Linked DNA regions of Homo sapiens: region 1 is linked to region 2. Evidence: promoter capture Hi-C in human tissues and cell types (Jung and others, 2019). All regions are on one chromosome and are shown on one strand. Each heading gives the region's core, a stretch centred on a gene start or on the middle of the fragment in contact. The rest is flanking DNA. Distances are from core to core; before and after follow the strand shown.

What was found. Contacts are between HindIII fragments. The study calls those that stand out against the background at their distance.
Region 1: a contact is called between the fragment with the promoter of MOSPD3 here and the fragment with the promoter of ZNF394 in region 2, in 1 of the 25 tissues and cell types used here (aorta).

What each region holds. Positions count from the first base shown.
Region 1 is chr7:100,609,736-100,614,361 of GRCh38, reverse strand. It overlaps MOSPD3 (motile sperm domain containing 3), which reads right to left and starts at 1,822. Exons shown (of 5, transcript NM_023948.5): 1 at 1,366-1,822; 2 at 1,093-1,168; 3 at 656-885. The coding sequence starts at 1,570. RefSeq lists a silencer at 1,780-1,839 and an enhancer at 1,960-2,229. The HindIII fragment of the contact is 8,229 bases long and covers 1-4,626 here.
Region 2 is chr7:99,497,647-99,502,314 of GRCh38, reverse strand. It overlaps ZNF394 (zinc finger protein 394), which reads left to right and starts at 2,034. Exons shown (of 3, transcript NM_032164.4): 1 at 2,034-2,677; 2 at 3,473-3,599. The coding sequence starts at 2,222. RefSeq lists enhancers at 2,424-2,703, 2,926-3,594. The HindIII fragment of the contact is 27,367 bases long and covers 1-4,668 here.

The DNA of each region.
Region 1 (4,626 bases), core at 573-3,072, 1.1 Mb before region 2:
CCCGACTAGCTGGGATTACAGGTGCGAGCCACCACTCCCAGCTAATTTTTGTGTGTTTTTAGTAGAGACGGGGTTCCATCATGTTGGTCAGGCTGGTATTGAACTCCTGGCCTCAGGTTATCAGCCCACCTCAGCCTCCCAAAGCACTGGGATTATAGGCGTGAGCCATCACACCCTGTATCTACTTTTTACTGCCCTCCAGGGGTACACTGCAAGTGTCCTCTCCTTCCTACAGCCTCTGTCCCCACCACCACAAGAACTCTCTCCTCCAGTCCCTCAGCATTCATTTTCTCTCTTCTGTGGACCTATCCGACAGGCAGGGACCTCTCTTGATCTCATACCCAGCACACAACTTGGTACAGGGTTAATTGCTCAATACAGGTTTCTTATTGAACTGAACTGAGCTACCACATGATAGGAAGTACTGCGGTTACAGTCAAGGAAGAACTTTTTCCTCTAAGTAGAAGTCAGAAACCAGGGAAGCTGTAAGTCTTTTCCCCCTCACCTGATATAAAATCTCAACTCGGAGGAATGTTTCCACCAAAAGACAAAAGACTGAACCAGGAGACTTCTTCAAATCCAATTTATCTCATCTCTAGGGAAATGCTAGTTCCTCCCTCCCTACAGAACTCAAGATCCCAGTCTCCCAACTCACGCTCCTGGAAGTGTCTGGCCGTGGGTGGTGGTGTCCCAGCAGGAGGCCCTGGGCGAGGCGCTGGATCTGGCTGTCCCTGAAGCTCAAGGGGGTACGCTGGGGCTCTCAGAATGGAGGTAATGTCCTTGCGTCCCACCACTCGGCCCTCAGCTCCTTCCTCAGACAGCTCAATGCGGAAGCGGTCCTGGACATCATAGTGGCTGGGAATGGGTGCCACATGGCGAATCACACTGGTCCCAAGGTAGGAGAGAAGCCCATTGGGGTGAATGAGGCAGTAATCCAAGGAAATCTGGGCCTCCCCCCAGAAGTCTCTCCCTTAGGGGCACAGGCAGAGGATAGGGCAAATAGGTTAAAGGGGGCAAGGTCTCAGACCTCAGACAACAGGTGGCAGCGACCCCTGGCTTCCACAAGCCTCCCCACCCTCCCAGCTCACTCACATGTCAATGCAAGACTGGGGCTTCACATATCCCTCTGCGTCAAACACCGTGTATTTGGCAGGTGCTGTGCACAGGACTGGGGGATAGAGACACACACAGACAAGCCCTGCCATGTGGGTCATTTAAGTCCCCTCTGCCTTCTGCCCCGGAGGCTGGACATGACTTTCCCAGTCCACCAAAGCTGGACGTGCAACCCTACCCATCTGACTCCTCCAGCCAACACAACCCCCCAGTGTCCGGCCACCAGCCCCCACGAGGCGCCGATCCCTTTACCTCGGAAGCGAAGCGCAGTTCCTGTGGGGTTATAGAGGGTCAGCAGCTGTCGGGGTCCGCTCCGCTGGTCCGCCCTGAATACTAGATCCGGGGGAAAGACCAGGACCGGGACAACGGGTCCCAAGGGAGGAGGGGCGCCCCGGGACCCCCGCCCAGGGGGCCCCGGACCCACCAGCTCCTGGTCCTGGGGCGCCCCACGGCGCATGCAGGCTCTGGGCGGTCGGACATCCGAGGGCAGAGCTCAGGGGACAGGGCCTGGAGTCAGAGCTGGGGGGCGTGAGGGGCGAAAGGGGACAAGATGAGCTCCCGGAGCAGGGCCTCGACTGATGCCGCCGCCGCCTTGGAACCCCGCTAGATGGGGCTCCCGCAGACCCAGGCCCAGGGCCCCCAAGACCTTTCCTCTTCCAGCTCTGCCCCAGGTTCCTTCGGACCCGCCGAGCCCCACCTCGACGGCCACGCCCACCCCGCTAAACCCGGCCCCTCGCAGCTCCCAACCCGGCCTTCTCCTCACGCCCAGCTCACGATCTCCATAAGCCCCGCCCCGCCGCTGGCCTCGCCCCTTCCGGGCGTTCCCGGACGCCCGCCTCCTCTCTCCAGCCAGACTCCGCCCGCTGCAGCGGGCGCCTGCAGAGCGACCTGTGACGCCGCCTGCTTCCTGGGAGACCTGTGTTTGCGTCTCCGGCCCCTCCCTAAGCTCGGACACGGGCCCCATCGGGCTTCTGCCTCAAAACGGTCGCTCGCGTTAGGATGCCCACCTTGTGGTTAAAGCACCTGCCAGTCAGCTTGTGGTCAGATTAATGTTGCCATGTTCCAGAGAGTCCTTTTCTATACTTCCGCCGTACGGCCTCTGTCATTGGCTAGGACGTCTTTGTTTCTGCCGTAACTATACGCCGATTGGTGTGCTGAAAGACCAAACAACGCCCTCCTTCTGTCGTCTGCGATTGGCTGGATTCCGGTGACGTAACAGTTGTACTGGCTCGAACTCGAGCCCTGAAGTAACTCAGAGAACCGGGGGCGGGGTTTCGAACTGGGCTTTGTTCTTTCCTCCCTATTCTTGAGATGGTCCAAGTCAATCTCCCACCGGGAAGCCCTTTTCCTCCTCTTCATTCCAGGCTCTAGAAGCCTCTGCAGGAACCAAGCCTGTTTTCTTTGCTTTTTTTTTTTTTTTTTTGAGACGAAGTCTCGCTCTGTCACCCAGGCTGGAGTGCAATGGCACGATCTCGGCTCACTGCAACCACCGCCTCCAGGGTTCAAGCGATTCTCCTGTCTCAGCCTCCCGAGTAGCTGGGATTATAGGCGTGCGCCATCACGCCCGGGTAATTCTTTGTATTTTTAGTAGAGACGGGGTTTCACCATGTTGGTCAGGCTGGTCTCGAACTCCTGACCTCAGGCGATCCACTTGCCTCAGCCTCCCAAAGTCCTGTAATTACAGGCGTGAGCCACCGTGCCCGCCCTCTTTTTTGCTTTTTTAGAGACAGAGTCTCACTCTGTCGCCCAGGCTGGAGTGCAGTGGCGCTATCATTGCTCACTGCAGCCTCCAACTCCTGGGTTCAAGCGATTCTCCTGCCTCAGCCTCCCGAGTAGCTGGGATTACAGGCGTGCATCACCATGCCTGGCTTTTTGTAATTTTTTGTAGAGACGATCTCGCTATGTTCTGCAGGCTGTTCTCGAACTCCTGGGCCCAAGCGATCCTCCCACTTAAGCCTCCCAAAGTGCATGAGAGCCACTGTTCCTTCCCCAGGCTCAAAGTCTGTTTTCTATGGGTTGGAGGTTCCTCCCATCTGGGACTCCAGACTAAGTCTTGCCTCCTGTTTCTCACCTTCCTGTGAGGGACGTGGGAAATCACTCACATTTGCACAGGGAATTAAGATTTGCTGATTTCAAACCCATGTTGTTTGAGTAATTATATATTTTAAAAAAGGATTTGCTAAACCCTGCCACTTTAATTGCATCGAATCTTCAACTCCTTTTACAGCCTGGATAAGGTGAAGAATCTGGGTCTCTGAGGGCACCCAGTTAGCAATGGAGCAAAGACAAAGTTGATCTTATCTGAAAGTCTCCTCTGAACATCTTGTGTAGAATCCCCGTGTTCTCTTTTACATTTTCTTTTTCTTTTTCTTTTTTTTTTTTTTTTTTTTTGAGACAGTCTTGTGCTGTCACACAGGCTGGAGGGCAGTGGTACAATCATAGCTCACTGCAGTCTCCACCTGCTTGGTTGCGCTCAACCAATCCTCCCACCTCAGCCTTCTGAGTAGCTGGGACTACAGGCGCGCGACTTCACACCCGGCTAATTGTATTTGTTTTTTTTGTTTTGTTTGGTTTGGTTTATTTTTTGAGATGGAGTCTCGCTCTTTCACCCAGGCCAGACTGCAGTGGCGCAATCTCGGACTGCAGTGGCGCGATCTCAGCTCACTGCAAGCTCCACCTCCCGGGTTCACACCATTCTCCTGCCTCAGCCTCCCGAGTAGCTGGGACTACAGGCACCCACCACCAAACCCGGCTAATTTTTTGTATTTTTAGTAGAGATGATGTTTCACCATGTTAGCCAGGATGGTCTGGATCTCCTGACCTTGTGATCCGCCCGCCTCAGCCTCCCAAAGTGCTGGGATTACAGGCGTGAGCCACCGCTCCCTGCCCTGTATTTGTTTTTTTAATAGCACTTATAGTGATACATGACCTCCTATTTTATTGTTTCTCTCTCCTCCAGTAGAATGTTTTTTCCTTTTCACAAGAGCAGGGACTTTGTTTAGTTTTCTGTTGTATCTTTAGGACTTATGACAGTGCCTACCATTTGGAATGAACAAATGAATGAGTGACTAGGATGAACTTTGAGCAGAGATCTGACTGGATTTAGGAAGTGAACCATGAGATATGTCTATGGGAGAGAATTCTGGATAGAGGAAATAGCAAAGGCCTAAAACAGAAGTGTACTAGAAATGGGCAACAAGGCCGGGTGCGGTGGTTCACCCCTGTAATTCCAGCACTTTGGGAGGCCGAGGCGGGCAGATCACAAGGTCAGGAATTCGAGACCAGCCTGACCAACATGGTGAAACCCCGTCTCTACTAAAAATACAAAATTAGCCGGGCGTGGTGGCACATGCCTGTAGTCCCACCTACTCGGGAGGCTGAGGCAGGAGAATCGCTTGAATCTGGGAGGCGGAGGTTGCAGGGAGCCGAGATATCGCCACTGCACTGCAGTCCAGCCAGATCATGCCACTGTGCTCCAGCCTGGGTGACAGAGCGAGACTCCATCTCAAAAAA
Region 2 (4,668 bases), core at 785-3,284:
CCATGTTGGTCAGGCTGGTCTTGAACTCCCGACCTCAGGTGATCCCCTCGCCTCGGCCTCCCAAAGTGCTGGGATTACAGGCGTGAGCCACCGCACCTGGCTCCATAAGAGATATTTTTATGTCTAGTTATTAAACACACCTGGATTGATAAATAGTGTTCGGTTTGTTTGGGCGTGGGGTGGGGAGGGGGATTGCTTGAACCCAGGAGGCAGAGGTTGCAGTGAGCCGAGGTCAGGAAATCAAGACCATCCTGGCTAACATGGTGAAACCCCGTCTCTACTAAAAATACAAAAAATTAGCTGGGTGTGGTGGCACGCGCCTGTAATCCCAGCTACTTGGGAGGCTGAGATAGGAGAATCGCTTGAACCCGAGCGATACTCCCTCTCAAAAAAAAATTTTTTTATTTTTATATGGAGACACATCCTCTCTATGTTGCTCAGGCTGGCCTGGAACTCCTGGTCTCAAGCGATCGTCTCATTTTATGCAAGTTGCAAATCACCAGCAGCTTGACATCAACCAAGACACTTTGTTTTAGAGACAGAGTCTTGCTCTGTCACCCAGGCTGGAGTGCACTGGTGCGATCATATCTCACTGCAGTCTTTACCTCCTGGGCTCAAAGGATCCTCCCACCTCAGCCTCCCAAGTAAGTGGTGTATCCTGAGTTGGTTCCTTCCAGTGGGTTCATCCTCTCGCTGACTTCAAGAATGCAGCCTCCGACCTTCACTGTGTTACAGCTCTTAAAGATGGCACGGACCCAAAGAGTGAGTAGCAGCAAGATTTATTGTGAAGAGCGAAAGAACAAACCTTCCACAGCATGGCAGAGCACTCCAGCCGGTTGCCTCCGCTGACTGGGGTGGGAGCTTTTAGTCTCTTATTTGTCCCCTCCCATGTCCGTTTCTGTCGTATCAGAACGCCCTTTTTTCCATCCTCCCTGCGATTGGCTGCTTTTAGAATCCTGCTGATTGGTCCATTTTACAGAGCGCTGATTGGTGCATTTTACAAACCTCTTGCTAGCTACAGAGCGCTGATTGGTGCATTTTTACAAACCTCTTGTAAGACAGAAAAGTTGTCCAAGTCCCCACTGGACCCAGGAAGTCCAACTAGCTTCACCTCTCACTGGGACTACAGGTGTGCACCACCACACCCAGCTAATTTTTTATTTTTTGTAGACATTGGGGTCTCCAATTCTTGGCTTCAAGCGATCTTCCCCCCTCAGCCTCCCAAAATGCTGGGATTACAGGCATACGCCACTGAGCCAGGCCAGGACACATCTTTGAGCCTCAATTTCCTCATCTTTTTTGTTTGTTTGTTAGGATCAAAGTCGTTAACATCTGATGTACATGGAAGCACTTAGTTTTAAAAAAAAAACAAAACTTTTTCCAACTGGGCGCAGCGGCTCACGCCTGTAATCCAGCACTTTGGGAGGCCGGGGCAGGCGGATCACGAGGTCAGGAGTTCCAGACCAGCCTGACCAACATGGTGAAACCCCATCTCTACTAAAATACAGAAAGTAGCCGGGCATGGTGGCGCGCGCCTGTAGTCCAAGCTACTCAGGAGGCTAAGACAGCCTGGCGACAGAGCGAGAGTCCGCCTGAAAAAAGAAAAAAAAACAACTTTGTCCAACCTGGGCAATATAATGAAACCCCATCCCCACAGAAAAATTAATAAACCGGGCGTGGTCGCGCGCACCTGTAGTCCTAGATACTTGGGAGGCTGAAGCTGGAGAATTGCTTGAACCCGGGAGACAGAAGTTGCAGTGAGCCGAAATCGCGCCACTGCAGTCCAGCCTGGGCGACAGAGCCAGACCCTGTCTATTTAATCCTGAAGGTTCCCGCCCTTGCCGGAGCTCGGCCACCGGCTCGGACGCCCGTATTTCCTCGGGATGCGGGAAACCGTCAAGACCCTCTGCGTCGGGCGGGGCTAGGACGATAAACCAGCGAGATGCACCTCACCCCATCAGGCGCCTAGAGAGGCCCCGGAAATGCAGGGAAAGGTGCCGCAAGGCCTCGATGACGCGCTTCCGGCACGGGATGTTTTCGGTTGTTTGACCGAGAGAGTTGTAGGCGCAAAGCTGAGGAAAGGAGAGTGTGGAGAGGGGCCTGGTGTGGTGGGGCCCGGTGTTTGGGACCGGAGGGTGTTGACGGCTGATGAGTTCCTTGGGTTTGCTCTTTCTTCACCTGAAAAGAAGACTCCAGGAAGGGCAGCACATGCCGGAGAAAGATGAATTCCAGCTTGACCGCCCAGAGGCGCGGCAGTGACGCCGAGTTGGGACCCTGGGTGATGGCTGCGAGGTCCAAGGACGCGGCGCCGTCCCAACGCGACGGACTTTTGCCCGTGAAAGTGGAGGAAGACTCACCCGGAAGTTGGGAGCCCAACTATCCCGCGGCTTCGCCGGACCCCGAAACTTCTCGACTGCACTTTAGGCAGCTGCGTTACCAGGAGGTGGCTGGACCGGAAGAGGCGCTGAGCCGGCTCCGAGAACTCTGTCGTCGGTGGCTGAGACCCGAGCTGCTCTCCAAGGAGCAGATCCTGGAGCTGCTGGTGCTGGAGCAGTTCCTCACCATCCTGCCCGAGGAGCTTCAAGCCTGGGTGCGAGAGCACTGCCCAGAGAGCGGGGAGGAGGCGGTGGCCGTGGTGCGGGCTCTGCAGCGAGCGCTCGATGGAACCTCATCCCAGGTGAGAAGCGAAAGGCCTGTTCTGGAGGTGGGAGTGTGGAAAATAGGCGTTTAGGGGTGCTCTGCGTTTCGGAACTTACTTCCTTATTACATTTCGTGTGAACATTGGGGTGTGTATGGACTTCCTTTCTGTAGGCCACAGTGACAGATCCATCCAGGAAATGACTTGTTATAGACCTCAGCATAAAGCGAACACGGATTACTGGTTTTCTTTCTTTTTCTTTTCTTTTTTTTTTTTTTCTTGTTGTTCTTGCTGTTGTTTGAGATGGAGTTTCACTCTTGTTGCCCAGGCTGGAGTGCAATGGCGCGATCTCGGCTCGCTGCAACCTCTGACTCCCGGGTTCAAGCGATTCTCCTGCCTCAGTCTCCCGAGTAGCTGGGATTACAGGCGCCCGCCACCACGCCCGGCTAATTTTTGTATTTTTAGTAGAGACGGGGTTTCACTGTGTTGGCCAGGCTGGTCTCGAACTCCTGACCTCAGGTGATCCGCCCGCCTCGGCCTCCCAAAATGCTGGGATTACAGGCGTGAGCCACCGCGCCCGGCCTTGTTTACTTTTAATCTGTATCATATTTCCATTCCCATACATCACAGTGATATAAGTTAAAGAAATATTTTGCTCCTACCTACCTCCAAAATTAGTGTAAATAGTCCACAGAAAGGCTTTTCAGGATTACAAGAGAATGTCAGCCTCTATCTCTGATCTCTCCAAACTCCCTTGTCGGTACAAGACTCAAGAAGAGTGTTAGTGCTGTACAGGGACAGCAGGTACTGAATGGGGCTCTTGTGTTGTTCCAGGGGATGGTGACTTTCGAGGACACGGCTGTGTCTCTAACCTGGGAGGAGTGGGAGCGCCTGGACCCAGCACGGAGGGACTTCTGCAGAGAGAGTGCGCAGAAGGATTCCGGGAGCACAGTTCCGCCGAGTGAGTGCTGTTGCTCTGCTGGTTTATTGCGGTGTGTGGTTTGTGAAGGGCTGGTTCACTACCATCCCTGAGCCACTATGCCATTCCCAGACTTGGGCTGAGAGCCTTCAGGTGCCTTCTGTAACGCAAGCAGGAGCCTCTGTACTGCTAGGTGCTAGATTCAGCTTTTTACTTTGGTTCATTTTTAATGTTTTATACATACAGAAAACTATATAAAAAAAAGATAATGACCATCCCCTGTGTCTACCACCCAAGTTTATCAGATCTTAATACTTGGCCATATTGCCAAGGAAATAGTATGTTACAGCTGTAGGTGAGGCCCCCACATAGCCTCCCTGAAACCCTTCCCCTCTATCCTTCTCCAGAGGTAGCCAGTAAGCTGACTGTTGTGTTCATGACTTCCATGCATGTCTTATATTGTCTCTACATAGACACGTAGCTCCACGCTGTATATCATTACTGTATGGCTTTTTTTACTCAACATTACATTTTTGAGATTTACTCATGTTGATGCATGGAGCTCTACCTATTTCACGGTCCAGATACTCCAGAATTCTCTCCATTTCTGTTGATGGACATTTAGGTGTCTTAAGTTTTTAACCATTACAGCATTGCACCGAACATTCTTGTATATTCTTGCATATCTTTGTATATTTGTTTCTATGTTGGAGTTTTTGAAGAGAATATGCCTAGAGACAGGCAGTAGTCCCCCCTTCCTGGTTTTGCTTTCTGCGGTTTCACTTACCCACAGTACAATCAGATATTTTAAGACAGGGAGAGACCACATTCACATGACTTTTATTAAGTATAGCATTTGTTTTTCGTTTTTTATCTTTGGCTTTGGGGGTTTTTTTGAGATGGAGTTTTACTCTTGTTGCCCAGGGGGAGTGCAGTGGTGTGGTCTCAGCTCACTGCAACTTCTGCCTCCCAAGCCAAGCAATTCTCCTGCCTCTGTCTCCCGAGGAGCTGGAATTACAGTTATGCCCCACCATGCTCAGCTAATTTTGTGTTTTTAGTAGAGATGGGGTTTCACCATGTTGGCCAGACTGGTCTTGAACTCCTTACCTCA